3 separate regions of the Homo sapiens genome follow, and all the other regions are linked to region 1. Evidence: promoter capture Hi-C in human tissues and cell types (Jung and others, 2019). All regions are on one chromosome and are shown on one strand. Each heading gives the region's core, a stretch centred on a gene start or on the middle of the fragment in contact. The rest is flanking DNA. Distances are from core to core; before and after follow the strand shown.

What was found. Contacts are between HindIII fragments. The study calls those that stand out against the background at their distance.
Region 2: a contact is called between a fragment that was not itself captured here and the fragment with the promoter of TNR in region 1, in 4 of the 25 tissues and cell types used here (H1 embryonic stem cells, bladder, dorsolateral prefrontal cortex and 1 more).
Region 3: a fragment that was not itself captured here is called in contact with the fragment with the promoter of TNR in region 1 in 1 of the 25 tissues and cell types used here (H1 embryonic stem cells).

The regions. Positions count from the first base shown.
Region 1 is chr1:175,742,069-175,745,299 of GRCh38, reverse strand. TNR (tenascin R) reads left to right here and starts at 1,705. Exons shown (of 23, transcript NM_003285.3): 1 at 1,705-2,074. The HindIII fragment of the contact is 10,162 bases long and covers 99-3,231 here.
Region 2 is chr1:175,905,690-175,908,920 of GRCh38, reverse strand. It overlaps LINC02803 (long intergenic non-protein coding RNA 2803), which reads left to right. Exons shown (of 5, transcript XR_001738304.2): 3 at 151-374. Among named protein-coding and RNA genes, the nearest start is that of LINC02803, 14 kb to the left of the region's middle. The HindIII fragment of the contact is 3,756 bases long and covers 1-3,231 here.
Region 3 is chr1:175,574,694-175,577,924 of GRCh38, reverse strand. All of the region lies in intron 1 of TNR (tenascin R), which reads left to right. Among named protein-coding and RNA genes, the nearest start is that of TNR, 170 kb to the left of the region's middle. The HindIII fragment of the contact is 3,604 bases long and covers 1-3,231 here.

The sequences.
Region 1 (3,231 bases), core at 456-2,955:
ACCTGAATGCATTACAACGTTTCAGCTCTTCAAATTGCTGGCTCCGTTCTTGCACTGTGTTAGGCAGTGGGCAATAATTTGCTTTTGGTACAGAAATTGAGTGATGTGTCTTCTGAACTGATGTTAAAACCCAATAGTTTCCAATTTTATAAGATTTAAAGCCAGTTTTGTATATGTGAAACTACCCAAATCACCAAGAGAATTAATTTTCTTAGGAGATTCTCATCGGTAATAGCAATTTCCACAGTTTGTTTGGCACCCCTAGTGGTAAATATTTTATTTTAAAAACTCAGCCACATATAAATTTATTGTAACAATCTAGGCACTTTGTCATAAATAAAAGCAATGATAACTGTGGTGCTATCTTCTATTTACTTCAAATGTCACTCCTGAAGTGTACATTTATAGAACATGGTAATTCAATGAGGAAGCTCCAGGGTCAGATGGCTCAGGTTCCATTACCATCCCTGACACTCACTAGTTGTGTGATCTTTGGAAAGTTATTTCATTCCTCTGTTACTCAGTTCCCAGTCTATAGAGTAGCAATAATAGCCTCTGCATTATAGAGTTATTGTATGGCTTAAATGAGCTAATACATGTAAGGGCTTATAACAGTGCCTAGCACCTGGTATAAACACTCTATAAATGTTAGCTATTGTTATTTGCCAGGAGTGAATCAAATATAAGAAGAGTGTTTGTATAAGATTACCTTTAAATTCCCTGCCAATCCTGAGGTTCTATGTTTCTATATCATTCCAGTCCCTTAGCATTCCTATTCAGTAGGGAGGGGGCAGCATTATCCACATTTTACAAACAGTAAAATTGAGCCATAGAGAAGCAAAATGTCCAGTAAGCAAGTGGCAGTCTGAAACCAGGACTCAGATTTTTAGATGTAAGTATTAGGACTCTTTCCGGGAGGCTGTGTGGCTGTACATTTAAAAGAGAATGTTAGATATCCCTTATGAGCCTATGAGCAGTGACCCCTTGATGCCCCTTCTCTGCCAAGGTTCTCCATAAATGTGCATCAAGGTCACTTCTGTCTCTACTTCTGAGATGATCTCAGGCCATATCTTTTCAGATATTTTTCTTACTAGCTTTACAAAAAAGCTATATTGTGGAGTTGGATGAAGGGCCAGCTCCCTGTATCCTCTGCCTCTTTAGGCATTCCCATGCCTGGGTTGTGCTACGTATACACATACTTCACCTGGCTGCAGACGCTGACTTTTTGGAGGGTTCCTTCTGCTGAGCCCGGACCTCAAACCACTTGAGAACCCCACAACTGACCTTATTCCAAAACATTCTATCCCAACCCATTCCACCCTGGATTTCTCCTTCAATCATGGGCAAAGGATCTGCAAAAGCTTCCATCCTCTCCCTTTCTCTTCTTATCTGGGTTGGTCAGAGGGAAGCCTCTATCTTCTTCAGGACCCTGCCTATGCAGAGGCAGCTCCAAGAGTTGGGTGCGGGGAGTATTTCTGTGCCTGAATCTGGACTGTTCAAGAGGATTTAGGATGCTTTTCTTTTCTGTCCACTAGGGGGCTGCTTGTAGGGGGATGGAAAAAACGGAGGCTTAAAAAAATCATGCTGCTGAAATTTCAGCAAGAGGGGAAAAGAGAGAGCGCGTGAGAGAGAGAGAGAGAGAGAGAGAGAGAGAGAGAGAGAGAGAGAGACAGCAAAGCAGTCCCAGGCTTCCTCCTCTCTTTCACGTCAGAGGCAGGAACCGACTGTGCTAAGGCTGTTGGCTCAACACCCAGAGGAGACGGGCAGACCCAGGGAGAGTGAGAGAAGGGGGTCCTCTCTGACCCAAGGAATTACCACTAGTGGAGTGAAGCCACCTGACTTTTTGATCTTATTTTGGTTGCCTCCTCATTCTCCTTCCACCCGTAGCCCTGACAGCTTGGGTTTCATTTCTTTCGTGGAGCCTTGTCTCTTCCTCCCAGAATAGGAGGAAGGGAAGAGAAGGGAAAGAGGAGGGCTCTCTAGGTGAGCGCATCAGCTGGCTCCAGCCTGAGCAAGCAAGAATTTTCTTCCCAGGAAGCTCCTCTCGCTCCCCGGCCGCCCACCCCCAGCCTGGGTAAGTCCAGAGCACTCGCTCCTTTGATTTTCTGGCTAACGTGATTTCAGCACCAAGGAGAGCTATGAGATGCATTTTGGTTCCTGTGTATCTGTGTGTTCTGCAAGGCATTTGGCACTAGGGTTACATCTATTTCTCTGCTGCCAGTAGAGTCGGGTTCTGCGTAGGGAAAAGAAAGGCGCAAAACTATGTTTACCGAATTAAAGGGGGATTGGACTCTGGCCTTGCGGGTGTGTGTGTGTGTGTGTGTGTGTGTGTGTGTACTGTTGCATAAGACAGGTGAGGTCTGAGCTAAATTGCGGGTGGTTTCTGCGTGTCTCCATGTAAGGCTGTTCTTTTTGTCTGTAGATAAGCGAGATGGTTTGGGGAATTAGTCGTGCACCTTCTTTAACTCTCTCCCGACAAGCCATCCATGGTGGGAAAGAGTTGCAAAGGAAGCCTGGGGGGTTGGGAGTGGAGGTAGAGTTAAAAGTTACGCACCTCTGAGAGAGCTTTAAAGAGGTGCTTTGTAAAATGTCAGTTTCCTAGTATTCTCTGGGCTCTTGCTGTGGAGAGAGCCCAACCTGACCTTTTACTTTCTCTTCTGGTGTGAACCCATGGTAAGTGGGCAGGTGCAACAGGTGAAGCTCAGGCTGGGGCGGCTTTGGGGGGTTGAGGTCCCTTCTGACTTCATGGTGGTAGGAAAGTGCTAGTGTCTTGAGCTTTGCAGAGACTGGCTGGTGTGGGTTATATTACATTTGCAAGGAGGCAGGAGGTACCCTCCACTTTTATGCCATCTTTGGCTATGGGTGGTTGGAAAGAAGACAAAGTCTGTTCTGCCCTGTTTTCTGGGGCATTTGGCAGTGAAAAACAACTAAGAATAAAGGTTTGTCTCTATATGTCTAGGGTGAGCAGAAACAAAATTAGACTTGTCCCAGACTCAGGAGGGCTTGAAGTGGTACTCTGTTCTCCTCCAGCACTGAGAGGCTCTGCAAACAGGAGCTCATTATTACTTCTTTCTTCACTGCTGCTACTTTTTGCAAGGTATTACTCTGTCTCTCCTGCTTTCTGCCTCTCTGAAGTATGTTCAGTCAATTCCCTGCATCTGCTTTGGTATTGTCTTGGAGACACTATAGGCCTGCCCCTGCCCCATTCAGTCCTGGCCACACCTACCTGGT
Region 2 (3,231 bases), core at 191-2,690, 160 kb before region 1:
ATGGTTATTATGCAACAGAAATAACCAAATTTATTTGTCATTTTTGTCTTTAACCATGACTATTTTAAGTTGTTTCCACAGTTAACTGCTTAATTCTGATGCATTTTCTTTTTTCTTTCTCCCTTTTTTTTTTTTTTTTTTTTTTTTTAGAGACGAGGTCTCACTATGTTGCCCAGGCTGATCTTGAACTCCTGGGTTCAAGAGATCCACCCATCTCAGCCTCCCAAAGCGCTGGGATTACAGGTGTGAGCCACCGTGCCCAGCCCTGATGCATTTTCTGAAAGCTCTTCAGAAGCAAGTAAATTGCTAAAGTATTGTGTCTCCTAAAACGTTCATGGAAAGGATAGAAAGGACCCTGACATCATTTGCGCTGGGTAAGAATTCCCAGAATTCTAATGAAGAGACTGACTGGTTTATAAAACTGCTAATCCAAGCAAGACAAGAATTAATTGAATACCAAGGAAATACTTTGCCAGATTTTCATGCTAGATAAGCCAATAATGAAATTGTTAAGATCTGCAGTTTCAATAAACTCCATAGTCCAAGCCAAATTACCTCTGATAACTCATCTAATAAACAGTGCTATGCACCTGTATTGGAGAAACAAAATTGGTGTTTACGAGGTTATAAATTAGTTGTTAAATGTGGACTCATGGAGAACCTGGATAACCACATGGTCCCTCTTACATCCTTAAAGCCTCCACTATTAAAAGCTCTGCAATTTGTATATATGGAAGACAATAGAAACTTCTGGTTTTTGCTACCTGATGTGCCATTTGGACATTTATAGAGGGATTTTATTTCTCTGCCATTTTCAGTGCATGTTTTCTAGATGTTTAGAAGCTTTTTCATGCAAGAAGACTGATGGTATAACAGTGGCTAAGAGGTTATTAGGAAATGTGTTTCCCTCATGGGGCATTCTGGAGAAATCTCCAATGATAGAGGTATTTGTTTCACTGGACAAGTTGTAAAACAGTTAAATAAAGTTTACAGATACAACAGCATTAGACAAAGTTAACTGAATTGGCTGGATTTCCTTGGTCAATGGTATTGCAGATTGATTACAATTAGATCCACTTTCAATGGAAAATATAAGTTGACCCCTTATGAAATAGTCACTGAAAGGTTTGTGCCCCTAATAATAGGACCTCATGTATCCTCTGCTCCTAAACTCTGAAATGACTAAATGCTGCAAATCTTTAATGCATTATGCCAAAGTGCACTTTTTTTTTTTCGAGATGAAGGAAGCTTTTCATGATGCACTAACTGAAGACAATGAAACCCATTATGATCTAGAACCTGGAGACTGAGCCTTCTAAAAACATCAGAACCAGCATGGCACATGTATACATATGTAACTAACCTGCACATTGTGCACATGTACCCTAAAACTTAAAGTATAATAATAAAGAAAGAAAGAAAGAAAGAAAGAAAGAAAGAAAGAAAGAAAGAAAGAAAGAAAGAGAAAAAATCAGAAAAAGACTGCCCTTGCCACCTACACTGCAGCAATAGAATCTCTGGTCCATGGAGTCACTCATGCTAAATGTGACATAATCAAACTGAAACTTGAAACTTGAAACTATGGAAGCAGATAGATCCCAAAGCAGACTACGGTTATTTTTTTTCTGTCTCTCTCCTGAAACAGGAGACTCTAGCATAAGAAAGCCCCTTCTGGCCCGGTGCGGCGGCTTACGCCTGTAATCCCAGCACTTTTTGCTTGAGCCCAGGAGTTCAAGACCAGCGTAGGCGACAGAACAAAACCCCATCTCTACTAAACGTACAAAACTTAGCTGGGCATGGTGGCAGTCGCCTGTAATCCCAGCTATTCGGGAAGCTGAGGTGGGAGAATCACTTGAACCCGGGAGGTGGAGGTTGCAGCGAGTCGAGATCGCACCACTGCACTCCAGCCTGGGCGACAGAGTGAAACTCCTTATCAAAAAGAAAGAGAAAGAGAGAGAGAGAAAGAGAGAGAAAGCCCTTTCTGGAGTAACCCTTACAAAAAAGTAACCTGAAGTCCTTGTTCCCACCTTACAAATTCCACTGCTTTGCTATTTCCCAGTGGGATTTGAGTCCAAATAAGAACGTTTATGATAGCGACAGAGTGACATCAATCGCCTAAAGAGAGGATTTGTTAAATTAAGTTTAACCTAAAACTGCCTCCTTACATATTTAAATTTGGTCTAAAAGTTTCTTCATATAAAGTGAACTGTAACCTAACTGGATTTGTAAACAGACTATAACCTACTCTTGTAACAAATAGCTGAATCTTAGCCAATTACAGCAGCCGAGTTTCAGTCAATCACAGGTAGCCAACTGTTCACACCATGTTCAAATAAAGCAAGCACTGAGCTGTAACTAATCTGGCTATCTCTGTACCTCATTTCTGTTTTCTGTTCACTTTCCTTTTTCTGTTTAGAAATCCTCCCTGACCACATGGCAGTGCCAGAGTCGCTCTGTACCTACCGTGGTTCTGAGGGCTGTCTGACTCCTAAATCATGCTTTGCTCAATTAAACTCTGTTAATTAATTAATCATTTAATTTGTCTAAAGTTTCCATTTTAACCAGACTTAAAGTGTATATATATATATGTATATATATACACACATATACACATATATATGTATACACACATATATATGTGTGTGTGTGTGTATAGTCACACTGATAGTAACTATGTCTTTGGTGTCTGTCATGCAACAGAGCAAACAATTTTTTAAATAGAGGGAATAGAACTGAAAAAAACCTCCTATCCAATTGGTAGCTGATTTATTAGGAGTTTTACAACTGCCTGCTCAGGTATCGGTAGTTCATTTTGCTAGCAAAGCTTCAAAAGCTGCTGTTAAAACACAGCAATCTCCAAACTTAAAAAGCTTCATTTTTAACACAATGAGAAACGTTTGTTCATTTTTAAAACAATCCTTTGTAAAAGAAAATAGACAAAAGGATTATAAAAGGGGCTAAATGAAATTTGACCGACTATGGAAACTACCTAGCAAACTAACTCCTATGCCACAGTACGCATTTGCTTGGTTAGTATTGTCATGTCATCAACAAAATCACCTGAATAAAAGAGGGAATTTAAAGACACTAAATTCTTTCTACACCTACCAAAAAGGGAAAAGTATTCAAAACGTATGGAAAAGAGATGTGCTCTTTGTCAGCAGAATTCTATACAGGCCACTCCCAAGGTAAGCCGAAGAAGTTCTCCCTGGCCAGCTTTACGAGGAACCT
Region 3 (3,231 bases), core at 469-2,968, 170 kb after region 1:
AATATGTAGGATATTGACAACCCACTCTTAGTTATCTGCATGAGCAATGGCATGGATAATCTTTCCCTGCAGAAAAATGTGAAACTCATTTCTAATAGGCTCGGGAATATAGCATTTGGGGCAGTAGATTTCCCTCCTCGTGCTGCTCTGCTGCAGCTGGACCATCAAATACAGTGCAGGAAAGGCCAATGGGTAGACCACAGATTCTGAACACTCTGACAGTTAGCGTGGCCCTCCACAGAAACGATATTATAGATGGCATTATTTACAGGCGCAGGAAGGGTCAGTATGATAGCTGCCAGCCCCTTTCCCTACCTCGCTCCCAAACCCGCACCCCCAGCCCTCCAAGCCACTTGTACTTCCTGAGCACCCACACTGACCAAGGCTTGTGTGGGGCAGTGTCAGACATCTAGTGAAGATGGAAGATTCCAGTGTGGCCTCAGATAAATCATGGCAAGAGTAATTGATTGTCTGTTGTGTGTTAGGCAGCAGGGAGATCCCGGAAATGGAACCGTCATGGCCCAAGAGGGTGACCAGGGAATCCTCAGGTCACTTGGTCAAGTAAAAGAAATGTCTTCACTCCCAGACCTAGCAAACTCCTAAAACGCTGATCCCAAGGACAAAGAAAAGTAATAACAAGACACAACCTGCCCAACAAACTGTGGGGGAAGTTATTGAACTACTTGAAGGCAGTTACCCCAAATTCTTCCCTGGGCCCCTATTGTCTCTAGAGTTGGATCCAGACTCCCTAGCCTGAGATTCAAGACTCTCTGTAGCCTACATCTTGTACCCTATATATGCTTACCCCGCTGCATGAACTCCCTTTCCCTGCCAGATGAGAATAACACAAGGTCTCTAATCACCCTGCATATGGTGTGGGGGAATGAATTGAAACCCCCAGGGGGCATGCTTGAAAAAGAATGGATGGCCCTTCTTTGGCTAATTACCAGGGTCTTTATATTAGTCTTTGAGGATTTTACAGAGTCCAGTGATGGGAAAACACATGCATCTCAATTATCATACACAGAGTAGAGAAATAATGAGCACTAAAATAAGTTGTAATTAGTGTGAATTGGGAGCACAGAGGAAGAGGAGCCTTATTTTGGTTTGGGGGTTTAAGAAGGCTTCATGGAAGAGGTGGCATCTAAAAAAATAGTGTCTCAAAAATGAAGTAGGATTATGCAGAGTCTCAAAAAATGAATAGGATGTATACAGATATTCTAAGTGAAAGGGTGAACATTTAGCAAAGGATAGTAAAGTTTATGAAGTATTTACAAGCTTGGGATGGTGTGGTGGGATGATGATGGAGGTGGGGAAAGATCATGCTTTTATGTGAGTAGCTGGTGTCACTAAGGATAAATTCCTAGGGGCAGTGGCCTTGTCTTTGTAGCTGCTGTGCCTAGTACAGTCAGGGCTGGTCCTGAAAGAATATTTCTGATCATTGGTGATAGATGGTAATCATGATGGCCTGTGCAAGGGTGGTACCAGTGCTGCTTTATGAGACTCAAGTCACTGTCGCAGTGAGGCTAAGGATCACCCACCAGCGCCCGGAAATACTGAATAGATTTCTGACTGCACTTCCTCCTCTCCTCCCACCTTGCTCAAATTCTCTCCACCTGACTTTGCATCTCTTTCAGGGAAAACCGGTGGGAAATTGCCAAGCTGACTGAGAGCCCCCTGCCCATGGTGATAGACCCTGTCACAGAAAAGTAATTTCTTTTTAAACTTCTATCCAGTGAAATCCCGCAGCTGCACACAGCAGGCCCAGCTGTGCCATCACTGCCATCCTACCACAGCAGTGCTGGGGAATAAAGGAAAATTCTTAGCATTAAATTTCATGTAAATCAGACTTTATTTGCTCTGGTGACGGGTTATTACCTTCTGCAGAGAATGAGGGGAAAAAATAGCTGCTGGCTGGAGGCACAGCTCCCCAAATGAGGATGTCTCGAATCGCAGCCCCTAGCAGAGCAGGCCTGGGCCATCCACTTTGCCACACCTTTTCCTTTGCCCCCACAGCTCCCAGGAGGATGACTTTTCCACTGGCATCTGCAGGCTCCAGCTTGGTTCAACTTAGCAGTGCAGTCCCCACCACTTAGCCTTCTCACTGCTTGTGTGGGGACAGCAACTTTTACCAACTGCCTCCTAAGCCCATCATACACAGTCCCCCGGTGCACTGTGGTGCGGGCTCTCTCCCACCTGGAATGCTCTATCCACTGCTGTCTACCTGGTTACATTCAATCTAGCCTTCAAGGCCCATCTCAAGTCCAAACCTCCACAAAGTCTTTCCTCACTACCCAATCTGAGGCACTCTCTCTCTCTCCTTTGAGTTCTACTCCTCTTTAGCCTCTGACTGATAGACTCCTATTAGCAACCAATACATTTATTGGGTGTCTATGTGCTAAAAATGATGGTTGGCATGTTCCTCATGTGTTCGTCAACCAGGCTGTGACAGGCTGAGGGTAGAGATGAGTACCCATGAATGCTTCTATCCAACCACGGTGCCTAGCACAAGGCTTGCACATAGTGGATTCTCAATAAAGGTGTTGGTCCCTGATAGAAGTATATCAGTCAGGACAGGCTAGGTTATGCTATAGTAAAAAATGCTCCCAAATGCTCAGTGGCTTAAAACAATGTAAGTTTATTTCTTGTTCACACCACCTGTCCATTGCAAGTTAGCTGGCAGACTCTGCTTATTTTAGTTTCTCAGGGACCCAGGCTGTTAGAACAGCCACCAACTTGAATATTGCTTGGGAAGGTCTCACACTGACAATGAAATAAAGCTTTGTCCTGGAAGTGACATGGTGTACCTCCACTCACAAGCCACATGGCCCCAGCAAACCTAAAGAGGCCAGAAAGTGCAATCCTGCCAGGCCTCCAGAAGGCAGAGAGCAAGAGATACTTGGTCAATAGCACCAATGACTTCTCCAGACTGCTTAGTTACTAAATTCCATGAGGAATGTGCTACATCTGTTTTGTCCACCACTGAATCCCTAATGGCTGACACAGTACATAATAGGTACTCAGTAAATACATAGGCTGATAGTCAACTTTTTCTGACCCTTTATCTTCATGCAGAACGGAGCTCATGTGCTTTCTTGGCCTTTGATCTGCCTTCCGTGCCTCTGTGACCATCAGCACTTGGAAGGAAGCAGCATGCCTTCACTGCTTTGCAGTCCTTACACACAAGGGTCAGTGTTGCTTAGGTGTATTGCCTTCTGCACCATAGGAGAG